Regions from separate parts of the Homo sapiens genome. Here all the other regions are linked to region 6. The links are contacts of gene promoters, found by promoter capture Hi-C in blood cells and fetal thymus (Javierre and others, 2016). All regions are on one chromosome and are shown on one strand. The core of a region is centred on a gene start or on the middle of the fragment in contact, and the rest is flanking DNA. Distances in the headings are between cores, read along the strand shown. Region 1 overlaps LOC124902439 (a long non-coding RNA gene). Region 2 has its middle 190 kb from the start of LINC02671. Region 3 overlaps LOC124902439 (a long non-coding RNA gene). Region 4 overlaps LOC124902439 (a long non-coding RNA gene). Region 5 overlaps LOC124902439 (a long non-coding RNA gene). Region 6 holds the start of LRRTM3 (leucine rich repeat transmembrane neuronal 3). Region 7 overlaps LOC124902439 (a long non-coding RNA gene).

What was found. The method cuts DNA at HindIII sites, captures the fragments that hold promoters and counts their contacts. A CHiCAGO score of 5 or more calls a contact.
Region 1: a contact is called between a fragment that was not itself captured here and the fragment with the promoter of LRRTM3 in region 6, in 3 of 17 cell types (M0 macrophages, M2 macrophages and endothelial precursors). The highest score is 8.1, in M0 macrophages.
Region 2: a fragment that was not itself captured here is called in contact with the fragment with the promoter of LRRTM3 in region 6 in 1 of 17 cell types (endothelial precursors); the score reaches 7.8 in endothelial precursors.
Region 3: a contact is called between a fragment that was not itself captured here and the fragment with the promoter of LRRTM3 in region 6, in 2 of 17 cell types (M0 macrophages and M2 macrophages). The highest score is 5.3, in M0 macrophages.
Region 4: a fragment that was not itself captured here is called in contact with the fragment with the promoter of LRRTM3 in region 6 in 2 of 17 cell types (M2 macrophages and M0 macrophages); the score reaches 7.1 in M2 macrophages.
Region 5: a contact is called between a fragment that was not itself captured here and the fragment with the promoter of LRRTM3 in region 6, in 2 of 17 cell types (endothelial precursors and M2 macrophages). The highest score is 10.5, in endothelial precursors.
Region 7: a fragment that was not itself captured here is called in contact with the fragment with the promoter of LRRTM3 in region 6 in 3 of 17 cell types (M2 macrophages, endothelial precursors and M0 macrophages); the score reaches 9.8 in M2 macrophages.

What each region holds. Positions count from the first base shown.
Region 1 is chr10:64,047,855-64,050,554 of GRCh38, reverse strand. The region is part of intron 2 of LOC124902439 (a long non-coding RNA gene); the gene reads right to left. Among named protein-coding and RNA genes, the nearest start is that of REEP3, 530 kb to the right of the region's middle. The HindIII fragment of the contact is 1,684 bases long and covers 550-2,233 here.
Region 2 is chr10:64,737,344-64,740,043 of GRCh38, reverse strand. No RefSeq gene overlaps it. Among named protein-coding and RNA genes, the nearest start is that of LINC02671, 190 kb to the left of the region's middle. The HindIII fragment of the contact is 2,982 bases long and covers 1-2,700 here.
Region 3 is chr10:64,066,489-64,069,188 of GRCh38, reverse strand. All of the region lies in intron 3 of LOC124902439 (a long non-coding RNA gene), which reads right to left. Among named protein-coding and RNA genes, the nearest start is that of REEP3, 550 kb to the right of the region's middle. The HindIII fragment of the contact is 229 bases long and covers 1,203-1,431 here.
Region 4 is chr10:64,111,074-64,113,773 of GRCh38, reverse strand. The region is part of intron 3 of LOC124902439 (a long non-coding RNA gene); the gene reads right to left. Among named protein-coding and RNA genes, the nearest start is that of REEP3, 590 kb to the right of the region's middle. The HindIII fragment of the contact is 586 bases long and covers 1,007-1,592 here.
Region 5 is chr10:64,028,893-64,031,592 of GRCh38, reverse strand. All of the region lies in intron 2 of LOC124902439 (a long non-coding RNA gene), which reads right to left. LOC105378333 (a long non-coding RNA gene) reads left to right here. Exons shown (of 3, transcript XR_946014.3): 3 at 2,055-2,274. Among named protein-coding and RNA genes, the nearest start is that of REEP3, 510 kb to the right of the region's middle. The HindIII fragment of the contact is 3,255 bases long and covers 1-2,700 here.
Region 6 is chr10:66,924,704-66,927,403 of GRCh38, reverse strand. It overlaps LRRTM3 (leucine rich repeat transmembrane neuronal 3), which reads right to left and starts at 1,368. Exons shown (of 3, transcript NM_178011.5): 1 at 817-1,368; 2 at 1-483. The coding sequence starts at 820. The region is part of intron 7 of CTNNA3 (catenin alpha 3); the gene reads left to right. The region is part of intron 3 of LOC101928961 (a long non-coding RNA gene); the gene reads left to right. RefSeq lists a silencer at 1,396-1,505 and an enhancer at 1,125-1,981. The HindIII fragment of the contact is 12,033 bases long and covers 1-2,700 here.
Region 7 is chr10:63,973,164-63,975,863 of GRCh38, reverse strand. All of the region lies in intron 1 of LOC124902439 (a long non-coding RNA gene), which reads right to left. It also overlaps the pseudogene LOC100420828. Among named protein-coding and RNA genes, the nearest start is that of REEP3, 450 kb to the right of the region's middle. The HindIII fragment of the contact is 183 bases long and covers 1,227-1,409 here.

The DNA.
Region 1 (2,700 bases), core at 142-2,641, 2.9 Mb after region 6:
AGCTTGGACATATAAAAAAATACACATAAAAATTGAGACTAAGCAGTCCTGTTGTAGAGGATATACACCCAGTAGTAAAACTGCTAGATTATATGGTAGTTCTATTTTTAAATTTTGAAGAACCTCCACACTGTTTTCTATAATTGCCATACTAATTTAAATTCTCACCAACAGTGCATAAGGATTTCTTTTTCTCCACATCCTCACCAATATTTGTTATCTTTTGTCTTTTTGATAATAGTCATTCTAACTTATGTGAGGTGATATCTCATTGTGGTTTTAATTTGCATTTCCCTGATAATTAGTGAGGTTGAGCACTTTTTCTTAAACCTGTTGGCCATCTGTATGTCTTCTTTTGAGCACTGTCTCTTCAGATCCTTTGCCCATTTTTAAAATTGGATTATTTGTTTTCTTGCTATTGAGTTGCTTGAGTTCCTTATATATTTTTGATGTTAACCCCTTATAAGAAATATGATTTGCAAATATTTCCTCCCAGTTTGGAGGTTGTCTCTTCACTCCCTTTATTGTCTCCTTTACTGTGCAGAAGCTTTTTAGTTTGACATATTCCAATTTGTCTATCTTTGCTTTTGTTGCCTGTGCATTTGGGGTCACACTCAAAAAATTATTGCCCAGACCAATGTCATGGAGCTTTTATCCTACGTTTTTCTTGTAGCAGTTTTAGAGTTTCAGGCCTTAAATTTAAGTCTTTAATTGATGTTGAGCTAATTTTTGTATATGTTGTGAGATAAGGGTCCAATTTCATTCTTCTGCATGTGGATATCCAGTTGTCACAACACCATTTATTTAAAGGATTGTCCTTTCCCAATTGTGTGTTCAGAGCAATTTTGTTGAAGATCAGTCGGCTGCAAATGCATGGATTTATTTCTAGGCTTCCTGTCCATCTCCATTTTTCTATTTGTCTTTTTTTTATACCAGTGCTATGCTGTTTTTGCTTACTGTAGCTTTGTGGTATATTTTGACATCAGATAGTTGATGCCTCTAGCTTTGTTCTTTTTGCTCAAGATTGCTTTGGCTATTTGGGGTCTTTTGTAGTTCCATACAAATTTTAGGAATTTTTTTTCTATTTCTGTAAAAAATGCCATTGAAATTTTAATAAGAATTTCATTGAATCTGTAGATCACTTTGAGTAATATGGCCAGTTGAACAACATTAATTCTTTTAATTCATGAACATAGAATACCTTTTTATTTTTGTGTCTTCAATTTCTTTCATCAATGTTTTACAGTTTTCAGTGTGTTGGTCTTTTACCTCCTTCATTAAACTTATTCCTAAGTAATTTTTATGCTATTGTAAATGGGATGGGTTTTTTCTTTTTTGAAATTTTTTATTTATTTATTTTTAAATTTATATTCTTTTCTTTTCCCTTCCTCTTCCTCTCCCCACTATCTTTCCCATCCTCTGATAACTACCATTCTACTTGCTATCTTCATGAGGTTCACTTTTTTACCTCCCATATATGAAATCATGTGATACCTGTTTTTCTGTGCTTGGCTTATTGCACTTAATATAATAGCTTCCAGTTTCGTCTATGTTGCTGCAAATGACATGATTTCATTCTTTTTAAGACTCAATAACATTCTGTTGTGTGTATACACCACATTTTCTTTATCCATTCATTCATTTTTGGGCACTTAGGTTGATTTCATATTATGGATATTATGAATAGTACCACAATGAACATGGGAGTGCAGATGTCTCTTTGATATATTGATTTTCCTTCTTTTAGTGTATACCTAGTAGTGAGATTGCTGGGTCATATGGTAGTTCTATTTTCAGTTTTTCAAAGAATCTCCGCGCTGTTCTCCATAGTGGCTGTACTAATTTACATTTCCATCAACAGTACATGAGTGTCCCCTTTCTGCACATCCTCACCAGCATCTGTTATTCTCTGACTTTTTGATACAAGCCATCTTAACTGGGGTGAGATAATATCTCATCATGGTATTGATTTGCATTTCTCTGATGAGTAGTTATATTGAGTATTTTTTTTGTTAACCTTTTGGCCACTTGTATGGCTTCTTTTGAGAAGTGTTTGTTCAGATCTTTTGCCCATTTTTAAATCGGATTATTTGTTTTTGCCACTAAGTTGTTTGAGCTCCTTATATATTCTGGTTACTAATTCCTTGTCAGACGGACAGTTTGCACATATTTTCTCTCATTCTGTAGGTTGTCTCTTCAGTTTGTTGATTGTTTCCTTTGCTGTGCAGAAGCTTTTTAGCTTGTTATAACCCCATTTGTCTATTTTTGCTTTGGTTGCCTGTGCCTTTGAGTTCTGTCTTAGAGAAAATAAAAGTCTTTGCCTAGACTAGTGTCCTAAAGTGCTTCCCAATGTTTCCTTCTACTAGTTTCATATATTCAGGTCTTAGATTTAAGTCTTCAATTCATTAATTCATTTTGAATTGAATGTTGTGAGAGATAAGGTCTAGTTTCATTCCTCTGCATATAGTTATCCAGTTTTCCCATTTATTGAAATGACTGTCCTTTCCCCATTGTATGTTCTTAGCACCACTGTTGAGGATAAATTTGCTATAAATGCATGGACTTATTTATGGGTTCTCTATCGTGTTCCACTGAAATATGCATCTGTTTTTATGCCAGTGTCATGCTGTTTTGCTTATTATAGCTTTGTAGTAAATTTTCAAGTCAGGTATTGTGATGCTTCCAACTTTGTTCTTTTTG
Region 2 (2,700 bases), core at 10-2,509, 2.2 Mb after region 6:
ATGGAGATTTGTGTACAGGTTTACTGAAAGGTAACCCCTACATCAACAAGTCTGGGGGAGTGAAGGAAGTAGGACTGGGCAGTGGCAGGAGTTTAGCTGTGGTTGCAAGAGGCCTCTATTATGGACATTTGGAGCTAAAATAGGCCTTTTAAGTTGCCCTGCCTTGAGCAAAAGAACATGGGAGGGTTCTACTTACCTTACCAACTGACCATTAGACTTGAGCTATCCCCAGGGAGGGGACTTACTCTTGGGTGAAGAGACTGTATTCAGCTTAGGAAGATTACAAAGGAGCAGAAGGTCCTTGCAGAAGATCATTCCCAGCAGCTGAAGTGTTGCCTCAATTCTGAGAAAAAAAAAAAAAAAGTAGCTAAGCTCAACATTAGCTACTGCTATAAATTTATCTCATTATTTCTTGTCTGCCCTCAAGAGTCAATGAAGTTCAATCACTCTTTCACATAGGGCAAAAATATTAGGGCACACATTTTTACCTTTCACAAGTCTCTTAAGTTTTGCTCAGTTATAGTAGTTGCAATGTTCGACTCATATATTGACATGATTCTTCTTAAAGTAGAAAACATAGAATCAAATGAATTACTTAGCTGTGTTTTCATCCCACAGTGTAATCTAATCAAGGAGAAAACTATTACAACATTCTCTTGACTTCTTTTCAAGAAAGATTTCCTTGACTTGGAATCTAACCTGGGGTGTAGCAGTGAGATCACCAAATCCTAACCACGAGACCACCAGGAAGCTGCTACTGACAACCTAACTCACCCTAAAATCATATTAAATTTTAGGTAACTTCACCCCACCATTGACTTACAGCAAAGTGATAGTCAATGAATACCTGTAATTTTCTCTCATATATTGCTATTTTGCTTTATTCTCTCATTTTGTTCTTGTAGAGATAGTTTTATGTTTTATTGTACCCAATGACAGAAGCTCACGTTTCTAAGAGATTACATATTGCATCTTTCTAAACTATCAATAAAAATTTTCTAAATATTTTCTTATTCTGTATCCACAGCACCTAGCCTGAAACATAATGGGTGCTTAATTAATGTTTTTTGAATGAATGGAAGGAATTTAGTTTCTAAATGACTTGTAAGTTGTTTGGTTAAATCCAAAATCAGATAAAAACTCTCAGAGTGCCTACTCATCTGAAATGTAACCCTTATATTGTTACTTCATTGCTTTAAAACAGAGACTTGATGAAATACAATGAAGACAAAAGAGTTCGATAGTCTCATAATTCTGGTCTTATTTGTTTCAATTCCCTTGAAGTTTCTTGTGTGTAAAAAAGCAGCTTTGTTAACAGATGCCCTTGTGATTTTGAGAAGTGATGAGAAAATTCCAAACCAACTCTTCACTTTTAATTTAATTATATTGATGGAAACTTACACTGAGAGTAGCACTAGCTATCAATCAACTTTACCTACTTCTGTGCTCTGGAAAAACTCATTTCAGCATTCCCCCCACTCTTTTATCACTGTCTTCCTTTTTGTGATTAAGCTAAGATCAACCATCTTTCCAAAGATAAGTCAGAATTCCATCCAGATTCGTTTATGGTGGTCAAAGCAATTGAATGTATTTTCCCCAAGATGTAGTTCACTATTAACTGAGTTTTTGTTTCTATTGTTTTCCTCACAAGTAGAACATGTTTGTGATCAATTTCCTCTTACTAGGAATGATTATTTCTTAGTCAAGGGGTATCACATAGAAAATTTCAAGTAAAGAGGATAAGAAACAGATAGCACCAGGCTAATTTAATGGACCAGACAATTCTTCACACTCCAATTCACCTGAATGTCTGTTTTAACTACAGGACAAAGTTTAATTATTGAGGAACACTTCATATATAATTCCAATCCTATATAATTCAGAGTTATTACAGTGTGGTGCTAGGAGATGGCAGAAAAGTGGCAGTTGTATTTCAGGTGCTGGCCTGGTGTTTTACAAATTACAAGTAGTGAAAGTAATTTTTAAAAAAGTAATTACTTGAAGTTTCCTGAAAACTAAAGCTATGTATTTTTTAGTGCAAAAAAGGACAAGAACATGAAATATTTTCAGGGACCTCTTCCTATATGAAAGAATGTTAAATTTGATAAAAAAGAGAACTCATTTTCTTCAGTATGACAAGTAATGTTCTAACTGATTTCTTTGTAATAACCCTCCTAAAACCACATGTTAGAAACTGCCTATCCTCATTTTATAAATTAGAGAACTGAGACATGGTAAAGTTATGTAAATCACCCAAGTTTACAGAGCTAGCAAGGGTATTGTCTAGATTTGAGCCCAAGCAGTCTGATGCCAAGTTTATTATCTAAACAAAATACTCCTGAAATACTTCTCTGAAAAAGAAATTATCTGCACATAATGTGTAAATGCAAACTCCCCCTTGGAAAATTACTTTTATCATTAAAGTAATTTGTTTTTATTTTTATAAATTTCATGATTTACTTTTACTTCCCTATACAACATTGCAATCCTTGAAAATTAACTCAGTCAATGTTTAACTTGGTGTTATCTGTCAGGGTTCCACTATGGAATAATAAAATTGAATGAAATGACATGTTACTGGGGAGATTCTGGTGGACAAGTATGATCAAAATTTCTGGGTATAATCAAAGTTTCTAGGTAAAATCAGGAGTCTGAGGTTTGTCACTAATTTTGTAACTTTGATATATCACTTAATACCTC
Region 3 (2,700 bases), core at 68-2,567, 2.9 Mb after region 6:
CCCTTAAATCATACGCAAAATTTTCTTCATATGTGCAATTTTCTGGCTTCTCTTAGGTCAGTGTTTCTTAATCAGATGTGATTTTGCCCTCCAGAGCTATTTGACAATGCCTAGATACACTTTTGGTTGTCTCGGCTAAGAGAATGCTACTGGCTTCTAGTAGGGAGTAGAGGCCAGGAATGCTGCTGAACATTCTATAATGCATGGAACAGCCACCCACTACATCTGCATTAGATTCTCCAAGGCCTCTCAGTCAATTCTAAAAAAAAATTAAGAGCAACTACACAAGAGCTTTACTTTTCCAAGGAAAAGCATGGACAAGAAGTATCTTTGCAGCCTTATAACACTTTTGTCATGGCTCACAGATGCAGCTGGATTGCTCTTCTAAGATTCCAGTATCCCTCAACATCTTGCTAAGTAACTTTCCACAAAATCTGAGCACTAGATTTTCTTGCTAAAGTCCCATGGGTTGTAATGTTCCTGGGCACTATGTTTGCATTTCCACCAGGACATTCAACACAGAAGACATTGAAAAATGGTGAACCCATCTACCAAGACATAGTGAACCCATTTGGAAGCACAGGGTGAGGAGGCATGACTCCATCATGTATTAAATCTATGCCCTGGTGTCCACACTGAGGACTGGATTCTAGGCAGTAGAAATATGGTTCTGTGAGAAGTTTATAGACCTGAAAGTCAGGGCACCTGGCTGTCCCATCAACGAACTCTGGGGACTGAACCCCAGTTTCTCTATAAAATGCAGGACTTGAGGTCTGCATCTGCCAAAATTCTACCAGAGACACAGAACCAGTAGGAGATAGATATTAAGGGATTATTGCAAGTCATTGGCTTATACAATTGTGGGCTAGGCTAGGCAAGACCAAAATGCTTAGAGCAGGCCACCAAGAAAGATAGGCTGGAACTCTTGAACATAGGCTGAAGCTACAGTCACACATGAAATTTCTTCCTCTTCCAGGAAACTGCAGTTCTGCCATTAAGACCTTCCACCTGATTGAATTGGGCCCACTCACATTACCCAGGATAATTCCCTGTACTTAAAGTCACCTGATAATGAACATTAATCACATCTACAAAATACCTTCACAGCAACCCCTCATTAGTGTTTGATTGCGTAACTGACATATAAAACTGACCATCACAGACTCCATGGTGTCTTAGTTTGTTTTGTACTTTCAAAAGCTTCAATTTTAATATTAATCATCCTGAACAACAAAATGTCATTTTTAGGACTGAGATCCAGGCACAGATACACCAAAGGGAGCAACTCTGAGCAATTGGCTCAAATATTAAGTTAGGTCATGAGGACTCGGGCTTAGGAGGCAAGGTGCAAAGATACAGATCTGGCCACACCAGGGTCTCTCTTAACGCAAGTCAAGGAAGGTTTAGAGAAAGTGCTGCTAAATAGAAGCTTTTCTTCCAAAATGCAACTGGCAAACTGTCCATCCACCCTAGGCAAGGTCTTTTAAGGAACCAATTATTTCCTGGAGAAAAAATAAAGTATTGATACAGAGACCATTGTGTTTTCTGGCATTTATCCAGATCTTAGAATTACTGAATTTTTGAGCAAGAAAGGATCTTAGAGTTAATCTTTTTTAACTCTCATTCACATTACAGATGAAGGGACTTGAGAACCAGAGAGATTTGTGAACCACAGTGTCAAGAAGCTCCTCAGTGTCACAGCCAGGATAAATAAAGCATCAGAAGTCCCAGGCCAAAGCTCTTTCAACCACTTCTGCTTCCAACAAGCCAAAGAAATGTGTACAGGCCTAAAATACAAGACTTCTACCTCCTCAGCAAAGCCTGCAAGCAAGCTCTTTATTGCTGGCATTTACCCTGACAGATATCAGTAACTACAAAAGGGTATGCTGTTAACGCACGATGACAAATTCCAAAATTGGCTTGTTTTCACAACTGTCACTTTTTAAGAGGTGAATGACCTTTCTCTGGTTCTTTAAAAACCACTGGATTTCAGCCAGTGCAACATCCCCGCACTTCCTCCCACAATCGCTTGCTATGAAAATGTCATTATTCTATTTTGGAGAGGCTAGAGGAGTTGTGCTTCTTTTATAATAACTATTTTTTTCTGAAAGGGGAAAAAAAATCATGAAAGCCAGGACTGGAAAAGTTTTCATGGATCAGTCACACTCCCAACATGCACAGGGGGAGAAAAAAGTAGAAAATACAATGTCAAATCCCATATGAAAGATGTAATCCCTTTACCCTCTATGGGAAGATCTTTTGTGGCTTTATTTTGATTCAGGACTGAGAAATGTCTTGTTGCCCATTTTCAAAACTGCATCGGCCTCCAGCAGCCCTCTCCCTGATAAACCACCTAATCTGAGGGATAGAAATAATTCCCCCTGTCCAACATTCAGCTCCAAATTCTCCCTCCTGAACCCTATTATTTTGGAATTTTTGGTAGCAACAAACAGAAATAGGCAGCAAGATTAAGAAACAACGAGATAACATGTGGGTATATGTGCACGAAAGTGCTTATGTACCTAGGTGCCGAGGCAAGAGACTGAAGGCACAAACTGTTTCAGTATAATAAAGAAAATAGTTAAAATAAGAATAGTCATAATACAAATTAGATATAGAGATGATCATGGACAATTATCAATCATTATTATAAACATTATTAATCATTAGCTTTTAATATTACTCTTTGTTGCATTACTA
Region 4 (2,700 bases), core at 50-2,549, 2.8 Mb after region 6:
GCCTCCTCCTATTCGTGAAATCTCAGTTCAAATGTCTTTTCTTTTAGGAAACCTTCCTTGACTGTCCTCCTTGTCATCTATCACTCTTAGTTTTTGTAGAATTAATACCTCTCTCTTTTATCTACCCACCGTAGTTTATTTGTATTCTAAATCTCCTATCACCTGCTGCCTACATGATAATTATTTGCAAATCTGCCACGTCATCCTTCATTAGGTTTGATGACGTTGATGTTAATATCACAGTTTCCATGGAGTCTGGCCCCATCCATGCCTTACACATAGTCCGTGTTAATAAACATTTTCTGAGCTAGACTATTCTCTCCTGGATCCCCATTATTTCCACACGATGAGCCTTATTTATCCTCACATGAATAATGGGTTTATACAGAAATGGGTAACATTTTTCAAAAATAGAAAAGAATGACTGCTCTATTCATTTTGCTAAGCCTTGCCCAAAACACATTTTCATGAATGGCTTCAAGAAAAGCATCTTTGGAGATAGGTTAGCAATAGTTTTCTAGTCTAACCTCCAACAGAGTAGTACAGAAAATTATCCCTTAGTATTCTCAGTGATGGGAAACTCACTACCTCATACTTCCTCTTTAGAAAGTGAAACTGTAAATAACCTAAACCATATTCCTTCATCGGAGGCAAAGGGTAAAAGTGGCTCTTCTCTGAACAGTTAGCTTGAGAATAATTTATGGCAGTTAATTAAACCCTAGCCTGATATTTTCTATTTTTAAAGGGGCAACCAATTATTTACTTATTCATTTCCCTTGATGTGCTTAGGAGCACTTTTAAGTACACTGTCAAATGTCAAGCAGAGGAGAGTGGCAGCCTGGAATTAAAGCAGTCATTCTATGCCTAGGGCTCAGCTTCCCTTGGTCGGCTGGGCACTATGACTTAGAAATGAGACTCTGTTATGCTCTAGTGCTCTGCACTTTTTTCACATTTCATTAGACAAAGTTGTCAAAGGTGGTATCAAATGGCCAAATAAATCAAAGCTTGATCTATCTTCATTTCCCATTACTTTACTGTCTATTTCTAACATAACCAGAGTTCATTCACAAATCTCTGATGCTTTGCAAATGTCAGATGGACTTTCAGTTTCTCCTTGAAGAGTCTTCCTATCAAGTCATAATACATACACCTCTGTTATTTCACATCTAGGGGAGTTTGGTCTTTAAACATTAGCCTGTAGCAAAAGGCTTTGTTTCCCATGTTTTGGCTCAGTTTCTCATACAGCGTACATGGAGATGTATAGGGTAGGAAAATGTGAGCAACCATCTCTACCACCATGGCAGACATTGCTAATTAATCACAGCCGTCTTTCCTGATGAGCCCAAATAGGGCTTAGCATTTATCACGACTGTACTCCCGTCAGTCACTACCAACTAACCAGAGTTGGAACAAGAGCTAAAACCTATTTGCTATCTCAGAGTCCAGTAAAAAGTCATCCTAGGTCACTGAAAAGAATCATAGAATGCTAGAGCTGGTCAGATCAATGGTTCGTTAAGCTCAATACCCTATTATAGAGGCAACTACAAAGGAAGGGCTGAGAGAGGGATCCGTGTCCTCTTTGACATCAAGCTTAAAAGCTATCTCCCCTTGCTACTTCTGATGGAGCTGCAGTTCATAAAATTTACCCAAGGCCATGTTGAATTCTAGTATGCAAATGAACAATAACTAAGTCAGTAGAAGTCTTCAGGCATGCATAAGGGCTGGGCTGGCTGTTGGCAACTGATCGATAAAAATTTCACCAAGATTTCTTCACACGCTCAGTGTTGCCAGTTTAAGGTGAATGGTGCTTTCATTTTTTGCTTTGCATTTTTATTTGTAAAGCCCTTCTTTCCGGATTCATATTTCCCGTTACAGAATCTGTGGACACATCATATTTTTTGTTTCTTCATAGTTCGCAAACAAGTATTGAGTACCTGCTATGAACGATATTGTTATTTCCATTGTGATTCCCCCATACACACTACACTCACACACAACACATGAGGCATGCTTTTATCTCCAGATAGCCACACGATTCCCTGTCTCAGTTACTTTAGTCATTACTAATTACCACTTTCCACGTTCCTGTGAGGCCTCCTGTCTTAGCCTGTTTCTACTAACAAAATACCTAGTCTATTCCTATCACAAAATACCTTAGACTGGGTCATTTATAAACAGTCCATAAATACCACTGCTGATATCAGAAAGTGGGGTCTTTGGGAAGTGATTAGGTCAAAAGGGCTCAGCCCTTGTGAATAGGATTAACGCCCTTAAGTTTCAACATGTGGATTTTGGAGGGACACATGCATTCAAACCATAGCAGCTTCTCAGCAAGCATGTCTAAGAGTGCAAACCACACCCAAATAAATCATTTCCCCTTCCTGCTTAATTTTCTTCCTCACACTTACCACCATCTACCATACTCTATATTCTACTTATTTTTCTTATTTATGTATTATCTTTATCAATCACTAGGACGTAAGTGAGTAGGGGTTTTTGTCTGTCTTGTTCATTGCTGTATTCCCCAGCATCTAAAACAATGCCCAATGTATAGTAGGCATTCAGCACATTTGTGGAATAAATGAATAGATAAGCACTCTCAGGTAGATAGCGTTATTATTATCCTACCAATAAGGAAACACAAGTTCAGAGGGGTCAAGTAATTTCTGAAAGATCATAAATACCACCTCCCCCCATGAA
Region 5 (2,700 bases), core at 165-2,664, 2.9 Mb after region 6:
ATATATACATGTAACTCAAAGAGTTACATAATTTCCTTACAATGATGCTGCTAGTAAGTGATGAAGTTGTAATTTTAAAAGCCAGGCCATCTTCCTCCAGAGCTAGGCTCTTAACTACCCGATTCTGCCGTTTCCACATGATGCAAGATTTTATTTGAGCCTTTCTAAAATCAGGATATAAAGGCTAGAAGGGTCAAAAGTAATATGTGAAAAACAAAGGATCTAGAAGAAAGGTCCTTGCCCTCCAGTAACTTACAATCCTGTTGGAAGAATAAGACTTAGAAAATAAAGCTATTTTAGAACAAATAGTTTATTGTAGTGCTAAAAAATGAGAATCAGATCTAAGCATTCTTTTTCAGCTCAGTTCTCCAACTTAAAGTTCATAGACTGGAAATTTATAAAACCACAAAGAAAAAGACTAAGGAAAAAATGAATAAGGCCTCCCCCTGGGAGGATTTAGTAAAGAATAATTGAAGTCCATGGAATCCCCCCAGACTGACCATTCATATGCGACTTGGGGATAGAGGTTCTTTAAAAAGTCCTGTAGAGCCAGGCCAGATGCGGTGGTTCACACTTGTAATCCCAGCACTTTGGGAGGCCGCAGTGGGCAGACTGCCTGAGGTCAGGAGTTTAAGACCAGCCTGTCTTAAGATGGTGCAACCCGGTCTCTACTAAAAATACAAAAATCAGTCGGGCGTGGTGGCGGGTGCCTGTAATCGCAGCTACTCGGGAGGCTGAGGCAGGAGAATTGCTGGAACCCAGGGGGCAGAGGTTGCAGTGAGCCAAGATTGTATCACTGCACTCCAGCCTGGGCGACAGAGCAAGGCTCTGTCTCCAAAATAAATAAATAAATAAATAAAATTTAAAAAAAATTCCTGTAGAGCCAGAGTCATTGGGTTCTCCCTCAATTAATATCTGAGGTGCCCAGAAACTGCAATGCCCAGGCAATAAGCCATCAAAGCCCCAGTCAAGCAGAAACATAGTCCCACTGAAGTTAGTGGCCTAAATTCTTCAAGTCAGATGCAGTAATCCCAGAATTAAGTTTCATCAAGTTAAAAAAATCTGATTACCAACCAGATTATCCATTATAATCTCAATGCCCAAAGATAACAAGTTATTCACGGTCTGTCATCCCAATTGTTCTCAGCAAGTAAATGAGAGAACATGCCTTCAGAAAGACGCATCTCAGTCTCTGTTGTGTGACCTAGGGCAGGCACCAGTCCACCTCCAAATTGCTGTAATGATCATGGGAGATAATGAATGGGAAATTGTCTTGTAACTTGAAAGGTATATTTTTAAAGTTATTACCTTCACTAGATGTTTGGGAACAGATTATTACTCATATTAGAAAAGCCCCATATGATAAGCAAAGTGCTCCATAGTCAAACTCGTCTACTTCATTGGCCTCACTCTTCCACTCCACCCTCCCACCCCTACCTCACGTCCACTCCCGATACTCCATATCCGCATATCACCCCAAAGCACTCAGTGCTTTCTTATGCTTCTGTTCCTTTGTCTTGATAAAGATATGATGCTAAAGAGGCCAAATACTACTCTTAAAGAAAGTTAATATTAAAACATAGAGGAAACTTTTGATCTCATTTATTTCCCATTATCTGACTTTATCCCCTCTAGGCAGAAAATCTTAATAACCAAATATTTGCATAATGCCTTTCTTTTTATGTCCTTGATTTCAACCAATTGCTTGAGAATATTTCCCCATCTCTCCAATAGTATCAAACCCAGTGAACTGATATGTTAATTTTAGGTAACTTGGGATATTCAGAGCACTTTGATGTACAATTATAAATCATAAACTAGCAAAGAAGACAAGGCCTCTGGAGAAGGAAATGTCAGAAACTTCTCCTCCTGCTTGTTTCATTAGGAGAGTTGTGATAGTAATGGGAGGAGGCTAGATTGAGAAAATAATCATATGGGGGTTCAGGGAATATTTGTGAAAGTTAGGTTTAGCAGCTCTGTCTAACTTCTTGGTCTGGTAGATGTCGCAAGTTTAATAAAATTTCCCAGATCTTTGAGCCAAAGTCTCTTTTAAGATACCCCAGAAAATCAAGAAGTCATGACAATTAAAGAGTCCTGTACCAGCACATCCTGTCTTCACTGCCTGCAAAGCTCACCACTCTCTTCTCCATCCACAAACTCCCATACTCCTTTGAAGCAGCAGCTGAGCCGCCACAACCTCGAGCCTCTCTCCTGATCACAGCATCACATAGACAAGGCTTCAGTGGAACCATGACAATTAGAATATTTATTGATTGCAGCACTTACAAAATTTGAAATATTTGAATAAAAAATTTTCCATAAAACTTTGGCTCCTGTTTACTTATCTTTAAGCCTAAAGCTCCTAGCACAGTGCCTGGAAACGAATAGCTAGAAAAAATATTTGTTTATATGTCAAGAAAAAAACATTTACTAGGCTCTTGCATAAGCATCCTCAGGGATTTCTCTTCAATTCTAAAGCTCACACAAGCTCAAAAATGCTTAAATGGACGTTGAATTCGTGTTTCATTGTGCCAATCCCTTTTCATGGTGAAATTCCCAGAGCCTGAAAAGGCATGGATAGATTCCCAAACCCTATATTTTATCACCCACCTGCGTTATCCTCTGTGTACTGTGATGGCTTGGTGGGGATGAAATTGACAGAGAGAAAAAGAGGTAATTGACGGAGTAAAATTATCACTA
Region 6 (2,700 bases), core at 119-2,618:
GTAAACTCAGCAGCTTCCGCAAGCCCCGAAACTGTTCAGATCCCAGAGAATGCAGCTGATTATAGGACAGATCCAAGTTCCGTAAATTTGTCACAGGTCTGAAGGTATTGTTAAGAAAATAGGAGATTCTATTGGAACTAAGAATCAGCTCTTTGAGTCTGCGTATTCCATTAAAAGCATTTTCGTCAATATTGCTGATATGGTTATGGTCAAGGTATAGCCAGGTGAGCTGGTTGAGCCCTTTAAATTGATTATACTTAAGTTTTTGAAGGCTGTTATAGCGAAGGGACAAACCTAAGCAACCAGCAGATATACTTGAGGGTATCTCCTGTAATTTCTGAGATTCACAATATACCATTTTGCCTTCACACCTACAGCCCTTAGGGCATCCTCGTTCGGCAGAAGAAAGCATTGTCAGTAAGACAGTGGGGGCTATAACCAGTGCTACAGCTGATCCGCTCAGTAGCCTAATTACATTGAAACCTGGAAATAAAAACAACTTAGAAAAGTTATCCCCCCAAAAAAGAATTAATCCTTAATCAAGCAAAAATAGGCATATATTTTTCATTTTTAAAAATTTAAATCTAAATAACACTTAACATCACATATTATCTCTTTGTAATTAAAGAGAATTGTCTTTAGTGTTTTGTTTTTTTAAATAGTTAAACAAGGAAACATGCCACTAAGCAAATAAATTCATAGTCTTAGAGCAGAGCAAGGTAATCTCTAAAATAATTAAGGCAGAATTATTACACACACTAGAGGTTTTTTGTTTTTTGTTTTTAAGAAGGAAAGAAGAAAAATGACAAAACATACCCATCCTTTGTATTGTTCAAAGGTCGTCCTTAGGTCTTTTGCTTTGGCTTAGGGGCCAGTTGCATGACAGCCCCTGTCAGCTGCACTGTAGTGAGTCAGGGCTCGCTGACACCCAGGAAGAAAAATTGGACCCCTTGGGAGATGGACCGATTTTGGAACATTATTCTTTGCCAGCCACGCAGAACACTCCAAGAACAAATAAATCCCAACACCGCATTCGCAGCAAAACATCAAAATCTTCCTAGGTAATAGGATCTTCATGGATATTACGTTTTTGCATCTTTACAGTTTTTTGGGGGGTGGGGAGGGGGCGGTTAAAAAAAAAACTGGATCCTACAATTTCTTCTTATCGAAAAACATGATGTATTCTTCCAGGCAATTTGGGGCTACCTGAGCTGCCACATCTGTATTCCATACCCCAGCAGTTCCCGTGATGAGCACCCAGTTCAGCCACAGAGCTGCGTTGGAGCCCAGAAGGCAGGAGAGCCCCGTACCGCGCACACGCTCAGCTCACTTCTGCAGACTGTCATTCTGAAAGCTGCTCGGACTGTTGCTTTGGTTTCAGTGAATGCAGTCTTATGTAAAGCTGCCCCCAGTGGTGAAGAACATTATGGGCATGTGCAGAAATGTCTCTCTTTTATCTTGCAAATGAGCAGGCTCTCTGCTGGAAAATGAATGATTCTTTTGGGTGGCTCAGTAGGAACTGAATGGTCACCGTGATCAATAACTAGCAACATTTTCTGTGATTTCCAAGTCTTGTTTTACAATTTGGCAACGTCTTTATTGTCTGTGTCCACTTAATTGCTAAACATGTGCTGCCCAGAGTTTTTCTGGAGCTTGACATTAAGTTCACAGACCGAACGTCAATTTTTCTTAACCTCAACGCAGGCTTTAAACTGAAATTTATAAAATGAATTATTGAGCTTTTCACAGAGAAGCATTAACTGCCTGCCCATTTGACCTCTTGGAGTCACAGTGATTATATTATGCAAGGTGTCTCAGGATGTTAGAACACAAACATTTTGGAATAGAGGGGATGACTGATGACAAGTGAATTAATGTGTCCAATAGCCTTTCCGGTTTTCTCACAGACGATATAATTGATTTTATGGCTATAGTTTCGTTTGTTGTTTTGGTTGTTGTAATTCTCTTTTAATTAGAAGGGAAATAAACCATTTTTAGTGTTAGGATACGAATCAAGAGATCATTTGGTTCATACTTTATTGATGTTGCTGCTATTTATTACACTAATAATATTTATGGAGCACTTTCTAAGTGCTTTAAATGGGCTACGTTGTTTTCTCTTTAAACAATAGTATGATGTGGGTCCTATTATAACCTCTCTTTTAAAGATGAGGAAACAGACTTGGGGAGGTAACTTTCTCAAGGTCATACAGCAAGCGAGTGCTAGAGCTGAGCTTCAGAAGCGAGTCATTCTTATGCCGAACCACTAACCACTAGATGATCCTGTTCAACAACATTGTTATCTTCATTTAAAAAAGAAGTCAGTGAAAATGAAGCCGATTAAAGGATTGGGGCAAGGAAGCTGTGATTAGCAAATTCTTGCTTGTTCTATTAGAATTGCCTAAATTTCTTTTGGTCTGAGGTTCCTAAAGAAGTATAAAAACTAAGGCAGCGTAGTTTAGTGATTAACAGCATAGATTTTGGCACCTAGATTCCAACTCCTGGCTACAATTTACCAGCTATGTAACCTTAAGCGCGTTACTTACCTTCCCTATGCCTCAGTTTTCTCATCTGCAAAACGGGCATAAAAACAAAAACTCACTTCATGTTTTGAGAATTAAGTCATTTTAATATCTGTATGTTACTTAGAACAGTGTGTTGCATGCAATAAGCCTGTGTAAGATATTTGAATAATATTAA
Region 7 (2,700 bases), core at 69-2,568, 3.0 Mb after region 6:
GCTGCTCCCCACTGGGGCTGCAGATTCCATAAACACAAATGGGCCTGCAGTAGTCTTGGCAAGCAGTGAACTACTAGCCCCAGGGCTAGCATTCTGGTGGGGGCTCTAAAGCTAGAAGTAGTGGCTGTACCAACAGGCAAAATGTCTGAGGTGCATCCAAAGGGCAGCTGGGTGCTGAAAGGGATGCCAAAGGGAAAATAAGGATGTAAAACCCACGAAGCTTATTGATGCTGTCAGTGAGTGGCTGGGCTGCAGTGGAGGTTAAGTCTGAAGCTCTTACTGGGGCTGTCTGATGTCAATAAGTTACCAAAGCTGGTAGCTGCAAGCTTCAGCCCAGAAGGGGCTCAAATGTGGGCTAAACAGTGGCTCTTGGGCCACAATAACTTTGAAAGTTGCATTTGGGCCACTGACCAACTGTGCAGACAAACTGGTGGGAACAGGCTGAGGTAATGCTGCTCCTGGGTGACATGTTCTCAGAACCAGGGAGCTCCATGGAAAATGGGAAGATGTTCTCTCTGGAGCCTGAAGGAGAACTCAGGAAGAAAGCTTGAGAAGGGGGAGTGATGTCCATGCCAGTGACATCAAAGTTCAAAGTAGCTAAGAGTTCAACCGTGCAGACGTGCTGGTTGCAATGGAGGACATGACTGCAGAAGCAGTGATAGGCTGGTGGGAGAAGGCTGAGTACTGGCGGAGGTGACTGGGGGAGGGTATCCATGAATCCACTGGAGAGTCCATAGGTGACTCTATTCTGCAGGAGGCAAGCTAGGAGAAAATCAAGGTGCTGGCAGGTGTGAGGAGGACAGTAGTAGAAGACACTCCAGCTATGACTGAGGGATGGGAATGCAGGTCCTCTGTTCTTATTACTAAGTGGAACCCCCAAAATGAGCTTGAACCTAAAAGGAGAAAGACAGTCAGCACAAACAGCAAATGGAGAATCAGGAGAGGAATGTGCATCTCATTCTACAGTCAGTCTCTGGAGTGTGAGAAGATAGAAGGGCAGACAGGACTGGGGCCCTGGCAGACTGGTCAGCTAAGTTTGCAACTGGGAATGTTTTAACACGCAAGACCCACAAGGTGAAAGTGACCAGGGGCAGGATGTTTTCATTCCCTACAGCAGGCAGAGCAATAGAACCCACAGGCTGAGTGACACTGCAGTCCATGGTGGCTTCAGTCTTAACTTCCGATATGTTATTGAGCCATTGACACTCAGCTTTCTTCTCTAAGCTTAGGTCTTCTCTAATGACTAGACAAGGAAGCTGAGGAGGGGAGGAAGGCAGCTCACCTCCATCCCACAACAGTAGCAGTGGCGGCAGCAGCAACATTGAAATTTTCCATCAACGAGGCCTACAGCTGGCAGATGTGGGTGAAGAATTTCTCCTTGACAAGCATCTAAATGGTGTCTGGAAGCTTTTTTCCCTGCTAGTCTCCTCCAACATCAGTGAGTGGAGAGCTCTCCGACGGCCTTCATCAAGCACTGTCTCTGTCAGCCTCTTGAGCAGGGGGGAGCAGGATGAGCTCTTTGAAGACGTCTGGGCTGTCTTTACTCAAGCCGTCTTCTGGGAGCCCAGATTGGAGGTCTCAAGACAGAGACCCTCGACTGCACCGGAAAAAAGACAACAGTCCAGTGGCCTCCATAGGCCTAGATGCTGATGGCTTAGTGCTCCTACTGCCACTGTATGCTGATGATTCACCCCTGCTGCCACGGGGCCTCTTCTCTGATCCTGCCACCGTTGCTCACTAGTTGGTGTCCTCTTCCTTCGCTGTTTCTTTCCTGTCCTCTCCTAGGGCCCTTCACTCAGTCTCCTTTGGACAAGGATCTACCCAGTGATTGATGGCACCAGCCTCAAGGGACGACTAGCGGCTAAGGTGGCAAACGGAGGATGGTCTCTTTGCTCCCAGGAAGAGGGATGTTTATTGTTCCCGGGTGGCCTGATTCTTCGAAGTGGCCCATTGGAACACAGAGTGTCCCCCCCAGACACTGCTCAGAACGGAGGGCTGAGCCTGCTGCTGCACAGAGGCAAAAGCTCGCAATGCTCATAGAACAACCCGCGAACAGGGCCCAGGAGAGCTGCAGGGAACCGAGCGATCTGGCCAGGCGGAGTGGCGGGGGCGGGGGAAGGGCGGCGCAGGGACCAGTGGGCGAAGCTGCCAGTGAGTTGCCTGTGAGGAGCCGTTTGAGCTCTGTTGTAGTTGCTAGGCGCAGAGATCGCCTAGCTATCGACTCTGCTCGCAGGCGGCGCTATCCCACGCGGTGCTGGCGACAGTCACTGGAGCACGTGGCAAAGAAAGGGCGCACCAGCGAAGGGCGCCAGAGGGCAATCTTAGCCGCCCACCCGGCGTCCTGTCGAGCGCTTCGGGACCTCCTGCCTCTGAGGCAGGAGTTTGGGCTCAGGTGGGTCCCACGCTGTTGGGGACTGTTGAGGACTGCCACTGCGGAGGCCCGGACCCACAGGGCCTGCGAACCCCTCAGCGCCTGGTACGGGGCGGCAGCTTGGGAAATCAGTTCCCGTGTGTCCTCTGGTCCTTTTCCCGGAGTCACTGAGAGGCAGAACATGCTCAAAGCCAGAGCGCGAGAGCACCCCATTTCCTGACTGAATGGAGGTGGCTTGCATGCAAGGAGGGTCCAGTAAGAGGGGGAAGGGCAGGAGACAAGGGACTTTGGATCTCGTGCGGCATCTAGAACGCCTAGGGTTCCAGGAT